Regions from separate parts of the Homo sapiens genome. Here regions 2 and 3 are each linked to region 1. The links are contacts of gene promoters, found by promoter capture Hi-C in blood cells and fetal thymus (Javierre and others, 2016). All regions are on one chromosome and are shown on one strand. Each heading gives the region's core, a stretch centred on a gene start or on the middle of the fragment in contact. The rest is flanking DNA. Distances are from core to core; before and after follow the strand shown.

Region 1 (3,043 bases), core at 293-2,792:
AAAAATGTAAGATTAAATTTTCTGATATTCCAAAATTGCATAAACATATCCACACATGGTGGCCAGAGAAGACAAAGTTCAAATATCAAGGTTCTTGTGATTTAACATAACCTCCACTTCCATTCCACATCCTCTCAGGTGTAAATAAACAAGCCAAAAAATAAAAACACACAACAACCTGGATTAGCTGCTGCTCTAAAGCTCAAGAAGAGGGAAGGGGTTCCTATACCCTACAATCTGAACCCACACATCTGTTCTTGCCACTGTCTGCCTTTCTCTTGAGTTGTAAAAAGCAGAAGCACTTTCATTTATCATGGATATACACTCATCTTGCACCCCAGTTTATCATATTCTCCCGACAGCTGCTGAAAATTTGTTATTCTAAATTAAGAGTAAGTGAATCCATGAAAGAGAAAGTCCTATCATTTGAAGCAGCAGCAACTCAGGCTGCCACTACACAAGAAGCCACTGAGCTCCCTATCCAGTTCTCAATATACTTGAAGCAGTGAGAGAAATTTAAAAGTAAAATATTTTGAAAGAATAGAAACAGTCAAAATAAGGGACAATATGGGGGGAAAACTGAATCTCGTGTCATATTAAGTTAAAAAAAAATTTACGTCATTGTTACCAACTTCCCCTCCCAATTTGTCTAGTTCTAACAGGCCTTCAAGCTCAAGTTAACCACTTTCTTCTACACACTCTCAAAATAACTCTATTACCAGGGTCTCACTCACCCAGAATAATTACAATGCCTCGGTAGGCCTCCACTCAATCCCCACCAGTTACAGCATGTGTACCCCCATCCTTTACAGAAGTGCACTCCTCCTTGTCTCAGTACTTAGGGCGTATTCATCAAATGTCTCACTCTTGAAACTCACCAGTGTGCGATTTTACTTGACTTCACGTAACCCTAAAGACCGTATAGCACCATCTCCCATCTCCCAAAACTTGGTAGCTTTCGTTTTCCTTCAAAGCAGAAATGTGCCCCCCAACGTCACGAAGCAAACAAAGCTGAACTCTATGTGGAAAAAAAAAAAAATGAAATCGATGCAACAAAGGGAAAAAAGGGAAGAAGAAGGGTGGGATCGGGGATGCATGAGTCTTCCAAAGGAGAAGCTGCCAGAGGAACTTCTGCATTTTAATGGTTCTGGGGCAGCAGAGGACTGGTGTGTAGGAAAACAACAAAGGTGGACTCCCCACTCTCCTTACCGCTGTAGAGCCAGAGGAAGATGCAATATATACACGGATCACCATCCTGGGAACAGCGGCTGCGGTTGTTTGGGTCCTGAAAAGGGCTGTGGAGCAGCTGCAGCAATGGCTGGAATCCAGCTAGGGGCTGAAACAGCGGTTGGCAGAGAAGGGTGGGGGAAGGTGGAAGGAGAACTCGCCAGAGCCCCGCCTCCGCCTTTAGCAGCTTCCACCGAGCTCTCTAAGCGCTGCAGTTCCAGCCCAAAACCCCGGAAGGAACAGGCTGTTTGCATCAATTCTATTTTTTTTTAATAGGGAATCTCGAATAGCACCGCGAGATCTGTTGAAACATTGATTTTTGACGATTCCTTCCCTGAGAAGAGGGCGAGGAGAAGAAGAAAGAAAAAGGAGAACTGAATTGAATTAGATTAGCATGAAGGACCTTTTCACGCGGAGACTAAAAGTACTGCGCATAACTTCCTGCTCAGAAATATATGCAAATAAGAAGACAGATCCTGAAAGAGCAAGCTGTATGTTGAAAACCCATGTTCTCAAAGCCTTGCGCATTTTAAGATTCCTATTACGTAGTGATTTTTCTGATCTTAGCTCGTTGTAGGAATTAGGCACTAAAGTACTGAGCAATGCTGCAGAGTTTTGAAGGAAAGTTTCAGGTTTCCTTAAGCCCAGAAATGGCAGGATTGGTTTTCTTTTTGAATTTTGTGTTTTGTTAAATTAGGGAACCCTGCTTCCGTGGGAATTTGCAGGAGGCCTGATTGGCAAGTTTAAGAATGAAGGAATAAATTACAAAGAAAAGATTGAAAATATTGTGTAAAAAGATGGATGATTTTTGTTTTGTTTTGCTTTTTAACTGACTGAAGTAAGGGATTTGGGAGAACATATTGCAGATGTTGAAATGGTGAAGAGAGAGATCAGATGGTTATTTGTAGCTCTAAGGAAATGAGCAAACAGTTAATAATGTCCAGAGACAGACCATATACTTCAAAGTGTAGTTTTAGGTTCCCAGATTATGTTAAATGAACAGAAAAAAAGGAATTTGCAAGATGAATGAGAGTGGAGAGGAGTCAGTCGCTTGTCCTACTTCTTTTCCTTTGCTGTTTTTCCACTGTCTCCAGTCTAGTGGTTTACTGTCTTTGCCTAGGCTCAGTGCTTACAATAGCTTTGTTAACTGTTCCCTACCCACAGGTTTTCCCTTCTCCAATCTGTCTTAAATACTAATTCCAAATTAATCTCTTTACATGTTGTCCTTAAAACAACCTCAAGAGGTGGGTACTATTACATTAATTTTACAGATGAAGAAACTGAAACTCAGAAAAATAGTTTTCCTAAAATCATATGGTTAGTACATTCCAGAGTTAGGAACTCCAGAGGCCACCTTCTTATTTTTTTTTAATTATACTTTAAATTCTAGGGTACATGTGCACAACGTGCAGGTTTGTTACATAGGTATACATGTGCCATGTTGGTTTGCTGCACCCATCAACTCGTTGTTTACATTAGGTATTTCACCTAATGCTATCACTCCTCCAGCCCCCCACCCCCCGACTGGCCCCGGGGTGTGATGTTCCCTGTCCTGTGTCCATGTGTTCTCATTGTTCAACTCCCACATATGAGTGAGAACATGTGGTGTTTGGTTTTCTGTCCTTGTGATAGTTTGCTTAGAATGATGGTTTCCAGCTTCATCCATGTCCCTGCAAAGGACATGAACTCATCCTTTTCTATGGCTGCATAGTATTCCATGGTGTACATGTGCCACATTTTCTTAATCCAGTCTATCACTGGGACATTTGAGTTGGTTCCAAGTCTTTGCTATTATGAATAGTGCTGCAATAAACAT
Region 2 (3,043 bases), core at 404-2,903, 190 kb before region 1:
TTGATTTTTTTATGACGTGAGAGATGAGAAATCCAGTTTCATTCTTCTACATGTGGCTTGCCAATTATCCCAGCACCATTTGTTGAATAGGGTGTCCTTTCCCCATTTTATGTTTTTATTTGCTTTGTCGAAGATCCAATAAGAAATCAATACAGCAACTGGTAGTCCTCATTGAATGCATAGTTTATAATATGCCACAGTTGGAAAAACTGTTCTTCTCATTTATCATAAGTTTCAAAAAGCATTGTTTTGATTGGGGTTCTGAGCAGTAAGAAAGGGTGTTCTAATTGCCTCCTATTAGCCCATTTTTTAGGGAAGACCCTAGGGCTTTGGGCATGACCAGATACACAACATTAGACAGATGAGATCAATGGAAATTTATTAGTCACATGTACTCATAGCCCAAAGGAAAAGAACACTACACATGACTCAGGGCAATGTTGCGATTGCACTTGGGAACAGAGTGAACAAGAGGGGCTGTGGAAGTCAGGCTTCGTAATGTAAAGAAGGTGAGGTGGCTCCTGGTTCTATGAGGGGTTGGCATTGATTTGTTTGAATAATTTGACAGAGAACTGAAACCTGCTACTCTGGGACAAGCAAGAACTGTGCTTAGTCCCTTTGTTAAGGAGGGTGGTCTTTCTAGGAGATGTTATCTGCAGTGACAGAATAGGGATGAAAATTTTGCAGTTAGGCCTTTTGATGTCCTTCTGGTTTCAGATAACAAAGAAGTATATAATATTGGGCCTTAATTTTATGCCTTACATCACAAAAGCCTCTTTAAAAGAATCAGGTGAAAGCTGTCCTGTTTCTCAGTCTATATGACCTAGTAGATTTGATGGTTTTAGAGGCATCTGTAGTGGATGAGGATGCTATGTGGATTCTCCAGTTAATCTCAATTGAACAGTCATAGCACAGATCTCAGAAAGCAAGGTCTTACTTTCTGTAGCAGAGCACTGCTTTTTGGAAAAGCAGACCCTAATAGAAACTGAGCACATAACTAAGGGACATCAAGTGACTATGCCACTAGATCATGAGCTGGTTATTATCAGATTTACCAAGTCAACAGCAATCCATTATAAAATAGACTGTTTTCAAGGTCTCAAGTAAGTTATGCAAGCAGATAGCCCAAACTATATGTCACCTTCCTCTGTTGCACTGAAGTGTCTTCCTCATATGGGGTTCTCCATGAGCAGCTGTCAGAAAATAGGGGAACTATTCCAGGGCCTGGCTCACAGTTTGGTAAGCTCAATACTCAATATGTATTGTAAACCAAAAGTAGCCTGCTACTGCCTCTGCATGACTTACACATGGATGTCTCTAAAGGACAAAAGTAGGGAGGTTGTTTTAACTAGTACACCTGGTTATAAACTTAGTGTATAGTTAATTAATTGCAATAATAACTGAAATGATTTACCCTGTTGTTTCTGACTTTTCAACTCCTCCCATTAAAAGATAGTGTCTATTTCCCCACTCCTTGACAATGGGTGGGCGTGGCGATTTGTTTGATTCATTAAATGCAGCATAAGTACCAATTCTGGGCCTAGTACTCAATAAGCTTCTCTTCTGTCTTTCAGAACCCTGGTATCACCATGTGAAGAAGTCTGAGACAGTCTTCTGGATGATAATTGCCATGTGGCTCCAACTGCCCTAGGCAACAGGCAACAAACTACCAGACACGTAAGTAAGGCCCTCCTATACCAGCCATCTCCCAGCTGTTCCACCAGTTGACTGCAGGTGCCTGAACAAGCTTGGATGAAATAAACCAACGCTGATCCAGGAAAACAGAACTATCTAGCTAACATTTTTTTGGGTTATTAATGAAAATACAAGTTTACTGTTTTAAGCAACTGGGTTTTGAGGTGATTTATTTTGTAGAAACAGCTAACTGATACAGCCTAGAACAAGAAATGGCCAGAAGCGTGGATAGCCATAGATGTCTGGGTGGTGTTAAATGTACTCACTGGATCGTTTGAAATCTAGAAATAGCAAGACTGAAATTGGAGACAAGGGGGTCTAGAGTAGCAGTACAGGGATGACCTATGGAATGGGTGAAGGATGAAGTTTGTGACAAACATTAATGTTAAGGAGCTCCTCAATATCTAAGAGAACAGGATAATTTATCCTACGGATATCAGCCAGCCTCTCACCTAAGCTACCCCAGTGCTTTTTTAATGGTACATTGAATAAAGTGGCTATGGTAGCAGAAATAAAAGCTAGGCATGAGTTTCCCCTCACAAAGGTTGATATAGCTACCTCTATGCTGAATGCCCAATCTGCTAGCAGCAGAGACTGACACTGAGCCCTTGATATGTATAATACCATCCAGCCACTTTGTTGCAGGTGAATTAAATTAGTGCTCTTACACCCAGGGTTACTAGTTCTACCACGTATCATATAATCTGAAATCAGCCCGCTTAGTTGAATGGCCTAGCAGAGACCCAGTGTAGGTTCTATTTGGGAACTCACTCTAAAAGGTTGGACCATGATGCTCCAGTATGTAGTATATTCATTAAAACAATAGTTGATATAATATGATTTTGTGTCCGCAGTAGCTGAAATAAATTGTTCCAGGCAACAATGGGATTGCCACCTCTCTCCAACACTTGTAGACTTTGGTTATTCATCCCTAAACCCTTAGACGCTGCCAGATTTGAGACTTTGCTTTCAATGGAGAATGCTTCTACAAAAGGAGAGTGGAAGGATGCCATTGAACATGAAGTTACAACAATCTGCCACTTAATTCTTTTGGATTTTTTATGAAAGGCACCAGAAAGCAGAAAAAAAAACAGTTAATATTACTGGGGAAAACTGACCCAAATCACCTTGTGGAGCTAGGTTTACTGTCACATGATTGAGGTAGAGAGAAATTTTTAGAACCCAAGGATACTGGGGTATTTCTTTGTGCATTCATGCCTCATGATAATGATAAATGAACAAATACAGATATCACAGCCTGGCAAAAGCAAGTCAACCAAGGGCCCAAAGCCCTTTAGGCTGAAATTTTTGGTCATCCCACCAGACAAGCAACCTGTAATAACTACAG
Region 3 (3,043 bases), core at 224-2,723, 140 kb before region 1:
TTGGAGCTTCCCATAGGACTGTTAACCCGGGTGGCATAAAAACCTCTACTAATTTTGCCTATACAACACGCTGACAACCATCCACTGGGAAGGTCTTTTCTCTTCTCCTAAATCCCCTGTCATGGGTAAAAAGGTGACCCCTCCCCCCAAAAATAGATGTCTACATCTGAATCCCTGGAACCTGTGAATGTTACCTTATTTGGAAAAAGGGGTCTTTGTAAATGTAATTAAGGATTTTGAGATGAGGTGATCACCCTTAATTATCCAAGTGAACCCTAAATCCAATGACAACTTTCCTTATAAGGGTAAGGAAGAGGGAGATGATTAGACAGAGAGAAGAAAGAGGAGGCATTGTGATCATGGAAACAGAGATGGCAGTGATGCAGCCACATGCCAAGCACTTCCAGAAACCAACAGATGCCAAAACAGACTAAGAACATTTTATCCTCTAGAGTCTCCAGAGGGAATGTAGAAATGTTGATAGCTTCGTTTCAAACTTCTGGCTTCCGGAACTGTGAGAGAATAAATCTCCATTGTCTTAAGCCACTTATTTGTGATAGTTTGTTATGGAATTCACAGGAAGTTAATATATACCGCAACCGCCATTTCCCAAAAAGAAAGCAGAAGAGAATTAAAATATCTGGGATCACGGTTGAGGTTGAAAGAAGAAAAGGTTTCCCTTTACACTGATAAAGGATAGACACAGACATATTCCTAAGGTTGCACTATGGGTGAAAGCTAGTGGAATAAGGCAAGAGTCACTCTCAAATCCCAAGTACCTTTTATATTAATTCTGTAATGCAGAGACTTTGGAAAGAAAGGAGGTTATGTGAAATTAATATCTAGTAGTATGCTACTGGCCTTGTTGAGAAAAAGAAATAAAACAGCAGAAAATACTACAGTATATAGCACACATATAAAAGTACATAACTCAGAACTCACTCGAGGTGGAAAACCAGTGGGCACTGCTTGAAAACATTGTAAGGTGAATAAGAAACACACAGCCACCTGAAGCAAATCACTATGACCTATACATACAGCACACTGTCTAAATCTTGGTAGGAAAGCCTGAGAAGAAAGTTTCTTCGGGAAACTTGGGCATGCAAAAGTCCTCCTATATACCGGGGAATTTAAAAATAGACTTAATGCTAAGGACAGAATGCATGCTCAGAAAAGGCTTGAGAAGACCCTAAGATTTCACCTCTGGCTAATATCTAGACTCAAGGCAAGCAGAAAGTGAAGGTTATGTCAGACTTGCAAATGGCTTGGCTAAGCCTAAAAGCCTTGCCATAGCACAAAGCCAATACTCAAAGAGTGGGAGTGGTGTTTTGTATGTGTTTGTTTTTTTGAACTCCTCGACCTTAAGAAAATCTCAGAAAACACAAGCTGAACAGAAGCTAATAGAACTAGAGACTTCAGTGAACACAAGTTCAGTGAATACAATCTTTGCAATAGAAAAATAGAAAAACTGTAACTTTCAGGAATAAAGAACAACCAACCTTGGTAACTACATTATAATAGTCAAATGTGCAATTTTTGAAATACAATGAGTATACAAAGAAACAAAAAAGTACAGCCATTCAAAGGAAAAAATAAATCATTCCTGAGGAAGACCAGATATTGGACTTACCACACAAAGGCTTTAAGTCAACTGTATTAAATACACTCAAAGAGCTAATGGAAACTATGAATGAAGAACTAAAGGAAACCAAGAAAGCAATATATTGAACAAAATGAGAATTTTAATAAAAAGAAACTATAAAAAAGGAACCAAAGTGAAATTATTAAGGGAGGAGCCAAGATGGCCGAATAGGAACAGCTCCGGTCAACAGCTCCCAGCATGAGCAATGCAGAAGACCGGTGATTTCTGCATTTCCATCTGAGGTACCGGGTTCATCTTCACTAGGGAGTGCCAGACAGTGGGTACAGGTCAGTGGGTGTGCGCGCAGTGCGCGAGCCGAAGCAGGGCGAGGCATTGCCTCACTAAGGAAGTGCAAGGGGTCAGGGAGTTCCCTTTCCCAGTCAAAGAAAGGGGTGACAGACTGCACCTGGAAAATCGGGTCACTCCCAACCGAATACTGCGCTATTCCGATGGGCTTAAAAAACGGCGCACCAGGACATTATATCCCGCACATGGCTCAGAGGGTCCTACACCCACGGAGTCTCGCTGATTGCTAGCATAGCAGTCTGAGATCAAACTGCAAAGCGGCTGCGAGGCTGCGGGAGGGGCGCCCACCATTGCTCAGGCTTGCTTAGGTAAACAAAGCAGCCGGGAAGCTCAAACTGGGTGGAGCCCACCACAGCTCAAGGAGGCCTGCCTGCCTCTGTAGGCTCCACCTCTGGGGGCAGGGCACAGACAAACAAAAAGACAGCAGTAACCTCTGCAGACTTAAATGTCCATGTCTCACAGCTTTGAAGAGAGCAGTGGTTCTCCCAGCACGCAGCTGGAGATCTCAGAATGGGCAGACTGCCTCCTCAAGTGGGTCCCTGACCCCTGAACCCCGAGCAGCCTAACTGGGAGGCACCCCCCAGCAGGGGCAGACTGACACCTCACACGGCCAGGTACTCCAACAGACCTGCAGCTGAGGGTCCTCTCTGTTAGAAGGAAAACTAACAAACAGAAAGGACATCCACACCAAAAACCCATCTGTACATCACCATCATCAAAGACCAAAAGTACATAAAACCACAAAGATGGGGAAAAAACAGAACAGAAAAACTGGAAACTCTAAAAAGCAGAGCGCCTCTCCTCCTCCAAAGGAACAGAGTTCCTCACCAGCAAGGGAACAAAGCTGGACGGAGAATGACTTTGACGAGCTGAGAGAAGAAGGCTTCGGATGATCAAATTACTCCGAGCTAAGGGAGGAAATTCAAACCAAAGGCAAAGAAGTTGAAAACTTTGAAAAAAGTTTAGAAGAATGTATAACTAGAATAACCAATACAGAGAAGTGCTTAAAGGAGCTGATGTAGCTGAAAACCAAGGCTCGAGAACTACGTGAAGAATGCAGAAGCCTCAGGAGCCGATGCGATCAACTGGAAGAAA

The links. Contacts are between HindIII fragments. The CHiCAGO score rates a contact against its expected background, and 5 or more counts as called.
Region 2: a fragment that was not itself captured here is called in contact with the fragment with the promoter of HMGN5 in region 1 in 4 of 17 cell types (monocytes, M2 macrophages, M0 macrophages and 1 more); the score reaches 9.8 in monocytes.
Region 3: a contact is called between a fragment that was not itself captured here and the fragment with the promoter of HMGN5 in region 1, in 2 of 17 cell types (M2 macrophages and M0 macrophages). The highest score is 6.1, in M2 macrophages.

The regions. Positions count from the first base shown.
Region 1 is chrX:81,200,412-81,203,454 of GRCh38, reverse strand. It overlaps HMGN5 (high mobility group nucleosome binding domain 5), which reads left to right and starts at 1,542. Exons shown (of 7, transcript NM_030763.3): 1 at 1,542-1,718. SH3BGRL (SH3 domain binding glutamate rich protein like) reads right to left here and starts at 1,353. Exons shown (of 4, transcript NM_003022.3): 1 at 1,210-1,353. The coding sequence starts at 1,254. RefSeq lists enhancers at 1,158-1,327, 1,448-1,697. The HindIII fragment of the contact is 6,013 bases long and covers 1-3,043 here.
Region 2 is chrX:81,390,738-81,393,780 of GRCh38, reverse strand. No RefSeq gene overlaps it. Among named protein-coding and RNA genes, the nearest start is that of SH3BGRL, 190 kb to the right of the region's middle. The HindIII fragment of the contact is 192 bases long and covers 1,558-1,749 here.
Region 3 is chrX:81,344,652-81,347,694 of GRCh38, reverse strand. No RefSeq gene overlaps it. Among named protein-coding and RNA genes, the nearest start is that of SH3BGRL, 140 kb to the right of the region's middle. The HindIII fragment of the contact is 4,166 bases long and covers 1-3,043 here.